2 separate regions of the Homo sapiens genome follow, and region 2 is linked to region 1. The links are contacts of gene promoters, found by promoter capture Hi-C in blood cells and fetal thymus (Javierre and others, 2016). All regions are on one chromosome and are shown on one strand. Each heading gives the region's core, a stretch centred on a gene start or on the middle of the fragment in contact. The rest is flanking DNA. Distances are from core to core; before and after follow the strand shown.

What was found. The method cuts DNA at HindIII sites, captures the fragments that hold promoters and counts their contacts. A CHiCAGO score of 5 or more calls a contact.
Region 2: a fragment that was not itself captured here is called in contact with the fragment with the promoter of DHODH in region 1 in 1 of 17 cell types (non-activated CD4 T cells); the score reaches 5.9 in non-activated CD4 T cells.

What each region holds. Positions count from the first base shown.
Region 1 is chr16:72,005,905-72,010,755 of GRCh38, forward strand. It overlaps DHODH (dihydroorotate dehydrogenase (quinone)), which reads left to right and starts at 2,840. Exons shown (of 9, transcript NM_001361.5): 1 at 2,840-2,881. The coding sequence starts at 2,861. It also overlaps the pseudogene ATP5F1AP3. RefSeq lists silencers at 2,592-2,691, 2,635-2,834. The HindIII fragment of the contact is 5,632 bases long and covers 1-4,767 here.
Region 2 is chr16:71,554,340-71,559,497 of GRCh38, forward strand. No RefSeq gene overlaps it. Among named protein-coding and RNA genes, the nearest start is that of TAT-AS1, 8.1 kb to the right of the region's middle. The HindIII fragment of the contact is 1,446 bases long and covers 684-2,129 here.

The DNA.
Region 1 (4,851 bases), core at 1,590-4,089:
TGTAAGTCTCTTCACCAACTGAGCAACAGTGGATCTCTTTCGACCAATAGCAACATAGATACAGTACAGCTTCTTCTTTTCTTCAGATCTATCATTGAAATGTTTCTGGTTAATGATTGTGTCAATAGCAATTGAGGTTTTCCCAGTCCTTCGGTCACCAATAATGAGCTCATGCTGACCACGACCAATTGGCACCAAGCTATCCACAGCCTTAATGCCAGTCGGCATTGGTTCCCACACTGAAGTTCGAGGAATGATTCTGGGGGCTTTCAGACCGACTCACTTATGGGTCTTGGAACCCATTGGACCCTTTCCATCAATAGCATTACCAAGGGCATCAACTACACGACCCAACAGCTCCTCACCGACTGGAACGTCCACAATGGTTCCTGTCCTCTTCACTATACCTCCTTCCTTACTTTATTATTTTCAAACACTACAATGCCAACATTGTCAGTTTCGAAGTTCAAGGACATATCCTTTAAGCCTGAAGAAAACTCTACCATTTCTTCTGCTTGGAACATTCCTCAGCCCATGTACATGGACAATACCATCACCAATACTTAAGACATGCCCAGTTTCTTCAAGGTCAGCAGAGGTATCAGCTCCAAGAACATGCTCTTTAAGAATAGAGGACATCTCAGCAGTCCCAGTCTTCTGAAGATGAGTGTTAGAGGCATGGAGGTTCCTTGCAGCAATGAAAGATGAACCCAAAGCATTTCTGGAGACCAGTCCTGCCCACCGAGTGAGGTCACGGGCTACGGCCGCGGAGACACACACAGACAGCATCTTTGCAGTTTCTCCACAGGTGGTACCTCCACAGCCGCAGCCTCTGGACTGACTGGGACCGTTTCAAGCATTTTTAAATGAAACCTGATGTTGATGAAATCTCTGAAAGTCAAGTCAGGTATCTTACACAATGCTGTAATTTCATTTCAATCCTTTTCATAAAGGGTAAAGTCCTTGTATATATTCTTTCAATACATGCTTTATCTAAGACACAAGCACTCTATCAATAAAAGTTTTAATTTAAACGACCAAAAAATTGGTGAGAGAGTGCTCAGAACTGAGGATAAACATGTAAGTAGTTTTTTGTCCCAGATGAGCAATGATTTATGTTGACTAAGGTGTGCTGAATTAACTTATTCCATTAAAGTGTAAAGGGAAGACAGGTTGATAAGCATAACTTTTACCTTGATAAATGTTTTCAATGATTTCTATTGCATGTAGACTGAAACACCTAGCATGTAAATTATTGCAGTAGAATCTGTCTCTAAGTCTCAGCTGGGTCTGTGAATTTGTTCTAATTTGATAGCTTCATACAACTGATGAAGCTCAAAAATGGCTTGACTCAAGATATTTCATACACCTTTCTTTTGCTCTAATTTCTGCTACGACAATAACCCAGCTATTTCAGCTGATGGCGGGAACACTGCAACTGGACAAAAATGACACGGATGGGTGTAGAGCCTCCAAACAATAAGTATCTGATTAATGCTGTTGACACCTAAGTCTACAGAGGCTATTCTCCAACGGCCAGGACATCATTAGGTAAGACATTTCAAAATTCTTCGTGAGGGCACGATTGCTTCAGAGGACTACAAAGTGACACATTAGGTCGTCATAAATCACCGCAGTACCATCCTGGCTAACACGGTGAAACCCCGTCTCTAAAATACAAAACAATGAGCCGGGCATGGTTGCGGGCGCCTGTAGTCCCAGCTACTCGGGAGGCTGACGCAGGAGAATGGCGTGAACCCGGGAGGCGGAGCTTGTAGTGAGCCGAGATCGCGCCACTGCACTGCAGCCTGGGCAACAGAGCAAGACTCTGTCAAAAAAAAAAAAAAAAAAAAAAAAAAATCACCGCAGTAAACCACACTCCAACGGGCCTGCACACTCAGGGTCTTGATTAGAAACAGTATTTAAAAAAATACCTCCACATCTGTTGCACCACAATGCCAAGGTATAACCAGGGCCACTTTCTCCAGGAGGCACAACAGGCGCAGGGCCAGGGAAGGGCCTCTGACACTTTTAGGATCTCAAGAAATTTTTTTTTTTTGGTTATTTTTCTTTGTTTGTTTTTGAGACAGAGTCTTGCTTTGTCGCCCAGGCTGGAGTGCAGTGGTGCTATCTCGGCTCACTGCAACCTCCACCTTCTGGGTTCAAGCGATTCTCCTGCCTCAGCCTCCCGAGTACCTGGGATTACAGGCGCCTGCCACTACGCCCGGCTAATTTTTGTATTTTATTTTATTTTTTAGTAGACACGGGGTTTTGGGTGTTGACCAGGTCTCGAACTCCTGACCTCAAGTGATCTGCCTGCCTCAGCCTCCCAAAGTGCTGGGACTACAGGCGTGAGCCACCATGCCCGGCCTCAAGAAAATGTTTTAATTTCCTTAAAAAACCTTAAGAAAAATCAACTTTTAAGTTGAAAAAGTTTATATATTAACATATTCATCTTTATATCAACACAGCAGTAAAATTTATTTTTTAAAGTGATAAAAACTGTACAAATATTTCTGGTGTGAAACACAGTGTTTTGATGCTCGCGGACTCTTGGATTCGAGGCTGCGGTAGTACGGACAAACACCGTGCAGCGGCATCTCATCTCCGCCAACAGCCGGCGATCAAGCGGGCAGGCTGGGAGAGGGCGGGCGGAAGAGGCGTGGCCGCCGCTACTGCGCACGTGCACCCAACCAGAACCTGGGGGTGGTGCCGGGCCTTCCCCGCTGCGCGGAGGCGTCCTCTCAACCCTTCTGCCCGGCGACTGGTGGGTTGGCGGCTAAGGGGCGGAGACAAGAGGGGCCGCCACCATCTCCTCCAATGGAAGGGAGACAGGGGCGGGCTTAATGACGGAAGGAGCATGGCGTGGAGACACCTGAAAGTGAGTCCCGCGAGTGAGCAGTGTGGATGGGGGACCAGGGACCGGGGAGGGCGAGAACGGAGAGTCAGGCCGGGCGAGGCATGGACCGAAGGCGGCTCCGGGAGTGTGGGCCCCCCTGGGACGTGTGCGTGTTTCCGGGGTCTCCTGCAAATGCTCGTGCGTGTGCATTTGCACGTGGACTCGGTCAGGCGTGTGCAGACAGCGCCTGCAGGTCTGGGTGGGTGCTGATCTGAGTGTCTGCGCCTGGGCCATGTTTTTGAGCCTGGCACAGGGGTGCTTAGTGAACACATGACCGCCTAGCGTTGTGTGCCGGATCCAACGGGGAATGAAACTAGAGTAGGACATGCTCCCAACCCTTTTAGGTAAAGTTTTGTTAGGGGCGGGGGTCTCTGTGAAAAGTTCTTAGCTGTATCCCCGTATGTAATAGGTGTTCAGAGGCCGGGCGCGGTGGCTCACGCCTGTAATCCCAGCACTTTGGGAGGCCGAGGCGGGTGGATCATGAGGTCAGGAGATCGAGACCATCCTGGCTAACAAGGTGAAACCCCGTCTCTACTAAAAATACAAAAAATTAGCCGGGCGCGGTGGCGGGCGCCTGTAGTCCCAGCTACTCGGGAGGCTGAGGCAGGAGAATGGCGTGAACCCGGGAAGCGGAGCTTGCAGTGAGCCGAGATTGCGCCACTGCAGTCCGCAGTCCGGCCTGGGCGACAGAGCGAGACTCCGTCTCAAAAAAAAAAAAAAAAAAAAAAAAAATAGGTGTTCAGATATTTGTTGATTGACATGGTGGGGGGGAGTACAGTCTCCAAGGGAGGCAATGAATAACCTTGACTTTCTTTTTATATGTTTATTTGAGACGGAGTCTTGGGCTGTCGCCCAGGCTGGAGTGCAGTGGCGCGATCTTGGCTCACTGCAACCTCCGCCTCCCGGGTTCAACCGATTTTCCTGCCTCGGCCTCCTGCGTAGCTGAGATTACAGGCGCGCGCCACCACGACTGGCTAATTTTGGTATTTTTAGTAGAGACTGCAGTTTCACCATGTTGGTCAGGCTGGTCTCGAACTCCTCACCTCGTGAGCCTCCCAAAGTGCTGGGATTACTGGCGTGAGCCACCGCGCTCGGCCTGAGTCTCTTTTTAAAATAAATAAATGGAGAGAGATGGGATCTCACTGTGTTGCCCAGGCTGGTCTAGAACTATTGGCCTCAAGGGATCTTCCCGCCTCAGCCTCCCAAAGTGGTGGGATTACAGGCGTGGGCTACCGCGCCCAGCCAATGAATACTTGATCTACATGTCTTTAGCAGTTTGGAAGGATCCTTAAAAGCAAATCTAATCATGTCATTTCCTGGCTTAGGGAACAAAACCCAAATCTTTATTTTGGCCAAGACTCCTGCTCCTTTCTCCTGCCTCGTCTTAAGCCTTACTTTCCCTCACTCCTCTGTTCCAAACTTTCTCCCTTTTTCATTCTCTTCTGCTACTGAGAGAGCCTTTACACTTTTTCCTCTCCGTACTGCCTTCTGGTTAACTATTTTTTTAAATAATTGAACCAGAATAGGTTCAGAGAGACCCCCATCAACTCGTTTATCCCTTGAGTATCAGCTTTAAGTCATTTCCTTAAGGAAGCCTTTCCTTACCTCTAAGATTAGGTTGAATACTTCCATTACCTTATACTTTTTATCCTTCATCACAGTTGCTATGACTACATATTTGCATGATCATTAATTTCTGTCTGTCGCTTCATAAGATCACACTCTCCATGAGGGTAGGGGCAAGATCTGTTTTGTCATCTTTGCTCAATCAGTATTTGATGAATGACTGAACTAATGAATGAATAACTCAGCATGTGGCAGTGATAGAGAAAAGCATTGTGAACCACTTTTGATCCAATAAGATCTGAAGCTTCTGTTTTATATTTTACACCCCCGTTACCTTGAAATGGAATATATGTATAATGTCTTTGTATGTATACATTTTTGAGAGA
Region 2 (5,158 bases), core at 157-2,656, 450 kb before region 1:
AACTCTCAAGAATACATGAGAAACTAAAAATAGTGAGCCCTATAGGGGATAAGGCAGGTAGGACCAGGGAGATGAGAAGCAAAAATGAAAGGACATTTCCTAGGCCAGGTGTGGTGGCACACACCTGTAATCCCAGCACTTTGGGAGGCTGAGGCGGGAGGATAACTTGAGGTCAGGAGTTCGAGACCAGCCTGGGTGACAGGGTGACACCCTGTCTGAAAAAAAAAAAAAAAAGAAGAAGAAATTAAATTTTGTATTGCTGGTTTTAAATAATATTTTCTCAGCCGGGCGGGTGGCTCACACCTGTAATCCCAGCACTTTAGGAGGCCGAGGTGGGCAGATCACCTGAGGTCCAGAGTTTGAGACCAGCCCGACCAACATGGTGAAACCCCCTCTCTACTAAAAATACGAAATTAGCCAGGCGTGGTGACACATGCCTGTAATCCCAGCTACTCGGGAGGCTGAGGCAGAAGAATCACTTGAACCCGGGAGGCGGAGGTTGCGGGGAGCCGAGATTGCGCCATTGCACTCCAGCCTGGGAAACAAGAGCGAAACTCCATCTCAAAAAAATAAATAAATAAAATAACATTTTCTCTTATTGCTGATGAAAATTAAAATTTTAAAATGGTATCTCATTGTATTTGTTAAAGTAATGGTAATTGTTACAACAAACAGATACCAAAAGCTTGATGGCTCAAACACAATTGAAGTGTTTTCTTGCTCAAATGAAGACCAACATGGTCAGTAAATAGCTCTTCTCGGAGCAGTAATTGAAGCACCCGGCTCCTCTCATTCTATGGGCCTGCCATCTTCAACTCAAGGAAGCACTGGTCCAGTGTTTGTAAAGGGATTGCCAAAACAGTGCTGAGGCCCTAGCGAGGCCAGAGACCGTGTACCAGTGGCACCCATTTACCTTTATTTTTACTTTAAGTATAGAAATTGAGAAGGTTCAGGATCAGATTAATCCCAGGTAGAGGCTGTGCACAGTAGATGCTGTGGAATAAGGAAGCTAAGAAGTTGAGGTCGCTGGCAGGAATGTGGGCAGAGTACAGCACCATGAGGCAAAAAAGAAGTGTAACAATGCAAGGGAGTTAATGGACTTGGGAAATGTTTGAAGAGATTAAAGGGCTGTAAAATGTCCAGGTGTCAGATTGTGAGCCAGTTGGAGGGTGAGCAGCTTGCAGTTAGTAAATTACATGTTAGGGATTAATAATCCTAAAATAGTCTAGTTCAAGTGATGACAAGGAACACAGGTGTGGCTTTGGGAGTGGGGCCATTGTGGGGTAGATTGTACAGCTCCTCATGTTTGGAATAAGCAAGAGGCCTTGAGGTTAGAGTGTGGGTGAGGCTATCCACAGAGATGTTGAAATTTCCCAAGTGTTGAAATTTCCCATGTATCAGGCCCTAAATAAATAAGGGAGTGTGCACAGAAAGGATATAAAGTAATTCAGCACATGTTTTAAAGGAAGCTGGTTATTGTGTGAGTCTGGGGGAGTATAGATATGAAAAAAGACAATAAGTTAGAGTCTGGGCTATGTGGGAAAAAAAGCTATTTCAAACAGTGAGTTGGCCGGGTGCAGTGACTCACGCCTGTAATCCCAGCACTTTGGGAGGCCAAGGCAGGCAGATCATGAGGTCAGGAGATCGAGACCATCCTGGCCAACATGGTGAAACCCTGTCTCTACTAAAAATACAAAAATTAGCTGGGTGTGGTGGCACGCACCTGTAATCCCAGCTGCTCGGGAGGCTGACGCAGGAGAATTGCTTGAACCTGGGAAGCAGAGGTTGCCCTGAGCTGAGATGGTGCCATTGCACTCCAGCCTGGCAAGAGAGCGAGACTCTGTCTCAAAAAAAAAAGAACAAACAGTGACTTTAGGGGAAGAGCGAAGTTACAGTTAAGGCAAAGAAGTAACCAGTTTGATGATGGCAGATAATTGTACCTGCTATGGAACAAAGATTTTGGGCAGGGGGAGAACGGAAGGAGGAAACATCAGGATGGAGAGATGTAAGAGAAGTATGGAGACTTCCAAAGCAACATCACAAGAAAGATCATATGAAAATGTTTGGGCTTCAAAACATCTAGATATGATGGATAAAATCTAACAAACGTATTTTCAAATTCAGAGCCAAGCTTGCAAGAGAGTAACAGAATCCCCAAAGAAGCAAAAACAAAGAGGGGCCTGAAAATTTGGAAAATAAGAGTATGCTTATGCTGGTAACATCTCAGTAATCATGGGTTTAGAGTTTAACACTAGTGGAGGAGGACTTAGACCCATGTAAGGCAGGGATTTAAAATTTAGACCTCTCCACAAAGCCAAGCCCTTCCAAATGTTAAGGCTGAGTAACAAGATGGATTATAAAGAAATCTTTCTTATTCTGGCCCCTGGGAAGAAAAAAGAAAACTCTCCCATGACAGTTTGTAAGCATAGGCATTCCTTTACATGGGTTTAGTGTTCAAATGTAACCTACCTGTATGGTCTGGAAACCCCAAAGTTGAGAAATTCACTGAAAAGTGATCCTGATCCATTCCATCAGCAGTTTGTTGTCGTTGTTTTGTTTTGTTTATTTGTTTGTTTTTTGAGATAAAGTCTTGCTCTCGTCCCCCAGGCTGGAGTGTGATGGTGCGATCTCGGCTCACTGCAACCTCCGCCTCCAAGGTTCAAGCGATTCTCCTGCCTCAGCCTCCCCAGTATCTGGGATTACAGGTGCCTGCCACCACACCTGGCTAATTTTTGTATTTTTAGTAGAGATGGGATTTCACCATGTTGGCCAGGCTGGTCTTGAACTCCTGACCTCAGGTGATCTGCCCCCCTGGCCTCCCAAAGTGCTGGGATTACAGGCGTGAGCCACCACGCCCAGCCCCATCAGCAGTTTTAATACTACAAGGAGAGAAAGTCATTGGGGAACCTCTAGCAACCTGCCATATCAGTCAGTATTTTTGTGGCAAAGAAGTATGATCAATAAAATACTTTCAAAGATAAGGATAACGTTAACATAAAACTGGGGTAAAACATAAAACAGAAATACAAGATGAAGAAAGAAAATCATCCTGGCACTTTGGGAGGCCAAAGCAGAAGGATCATTTGAGCCCAGGAGACCAGCCTGGGCAGCATAGTGAGACCCCATCTCTGCAAAAAATACACAAATTAGGCAGGCATGTTGGCATGTAACTATGGTCCGAGCCACTCAGAAGGCTGAGGTGGAAAGATTACTTGAGTCTAGGAGGTCAAGGCTGCAGCGAGCTATGATTGTAATCATGTCATTGCACTCCAGTCTGGGCAACAGAGCAAGATCCTGTTTCAACAACAAAAAAAAGAAGGTAAATTTCTAGTAAATATCCAATATCATCTCTGTTGAAAAATGCATGCTCTAGTTAAATGAACAAGTTAAATGACACCACAAGGAAGCCAACAAACATATCCAGAATGTAGAACATTTTGTAAGACAGCCATTCCTGCAACAAGTCAATGGTATGAAAAGAAAAAAAAAAAAACAGGAGCCTTCTCTAGAGTAAGAGATATTTAAGCTTAAGACATAAAACTAAAAAGTAATGTTTAAACTTTGTTTGAATCCTGATCCAAATAAACCAACTATAAGAAGACATTTTGGAGGCAACCAAAAATATCTTACTATTTGATGTGATGTGGCACTGTGGTTAAGAAATTATGTGTTTAGAGATGTGTACTGAGGCGTATGGGGAGAACTAACGATGTCCAGGATTTGCTTTACAATCTTTTGGCAAAGAAAACAAGAAAAAGAAGGAAGGAACAAAAATGGCAATATCTTGAGAGTCATTAAATCTGAGTGATGGGTATATTGGTGCTAATTATACTACTGCTTCTACTTTTATATATGTTTGAATTTTCAGTCAAGAATTCTAAATTATTTTAGGGAACACATGAACGAAAAAGTGTAAAAACCACTAGTTTATCACACATGCTAATTCTGCTATTTACAGAAACATCTCAGATGTTTTTCTAGAAATTTCTTATTGCTCCCAGTGTGGAAGCCCAACTGACACTTTGCCCTGCTTCCATTATGAAATACCAGAGTCAGGAAAAATAAGCACTTTGTACCCTTAAATGAAACAACAATGATGAGGTCACCCCATCTAGTTCTAGTCCCCAAACTAATTCCTGCAAGTGTGCACTCCTTATCTTTAAAAAACTGAAGTTATCTCTGCCTTTTAGAATGATTATGTCTGAAGTAACATCACAATGTTTGTGACTAGGATGAACATGAGAAAAAGTTACTGTTTTCCACCATGAACAGATAGCTACAAACTGGCAATCTTACATGCTTTTTCTTTTCTTTAAAAACCTAAAAATCCTTTAAATGCCACACAGATATTTGAGTTGATCTCCCTAAAGTCTGACTCCTTTATATCTTTTTTTCCACTCACACAAAAAAAACAGTATTACTGAGACATGATCTACATACCACACAACTCAACCCACTTAAATTGTACAATTCAATGGTTTTTACTTTCTTTAAAGTTGTGTAACCATCACCATTATCAATTTTAGAATATATTCATCACTCCAAAAAGAAACTCTGTACCCATTAGCCATCTCTCTCCATCTCCCACATATGGCCTCACCTCTAGCTCTAGAAGTAACTAATCTATTTTCTGTCTCTATGAGTAATATGATTTGGCTCTGTGTCCTCACCCAAATCTCATGTCGAATTGTAATTCCCAGTGTTGAAGGACAGGCCTGGTGAGAGGTGATTAAATCATGGAGGTGGACTTCCCCCTTGCTGTTCTTGTGATAGAGTTCTCCCAAGATCTGCTTGTTTAAAAGTGTGTAGAACCTCCTCCTACTCCCACTGGCCATGTGAAGATGTCCCTGCTTCCCCTTCACCTTCTGCCATGTGGTAAGTTTCCTGAGGCCTCCCCAGAAGCAGAAAACTATACAGCCTGCAAAACTGTGAGCACAATTAAACCTCTTTTCCTTATGAATTAACCAGTCTCAGGTAGTTCTTCATAGCAGTGTGAGAATGCACTAATACAGAAAATTGGTACTATAGAAGTGGGGCATTACTATAAAGATACCTGAAAATGTGTAAGCAACTTTGCAATTGGATAACAGGCAGAGATTGGAACAGTTTGGAGGGCCCAGAAGATAGGAAGATGGGAGAAAGTTTGGAACTTCCTACA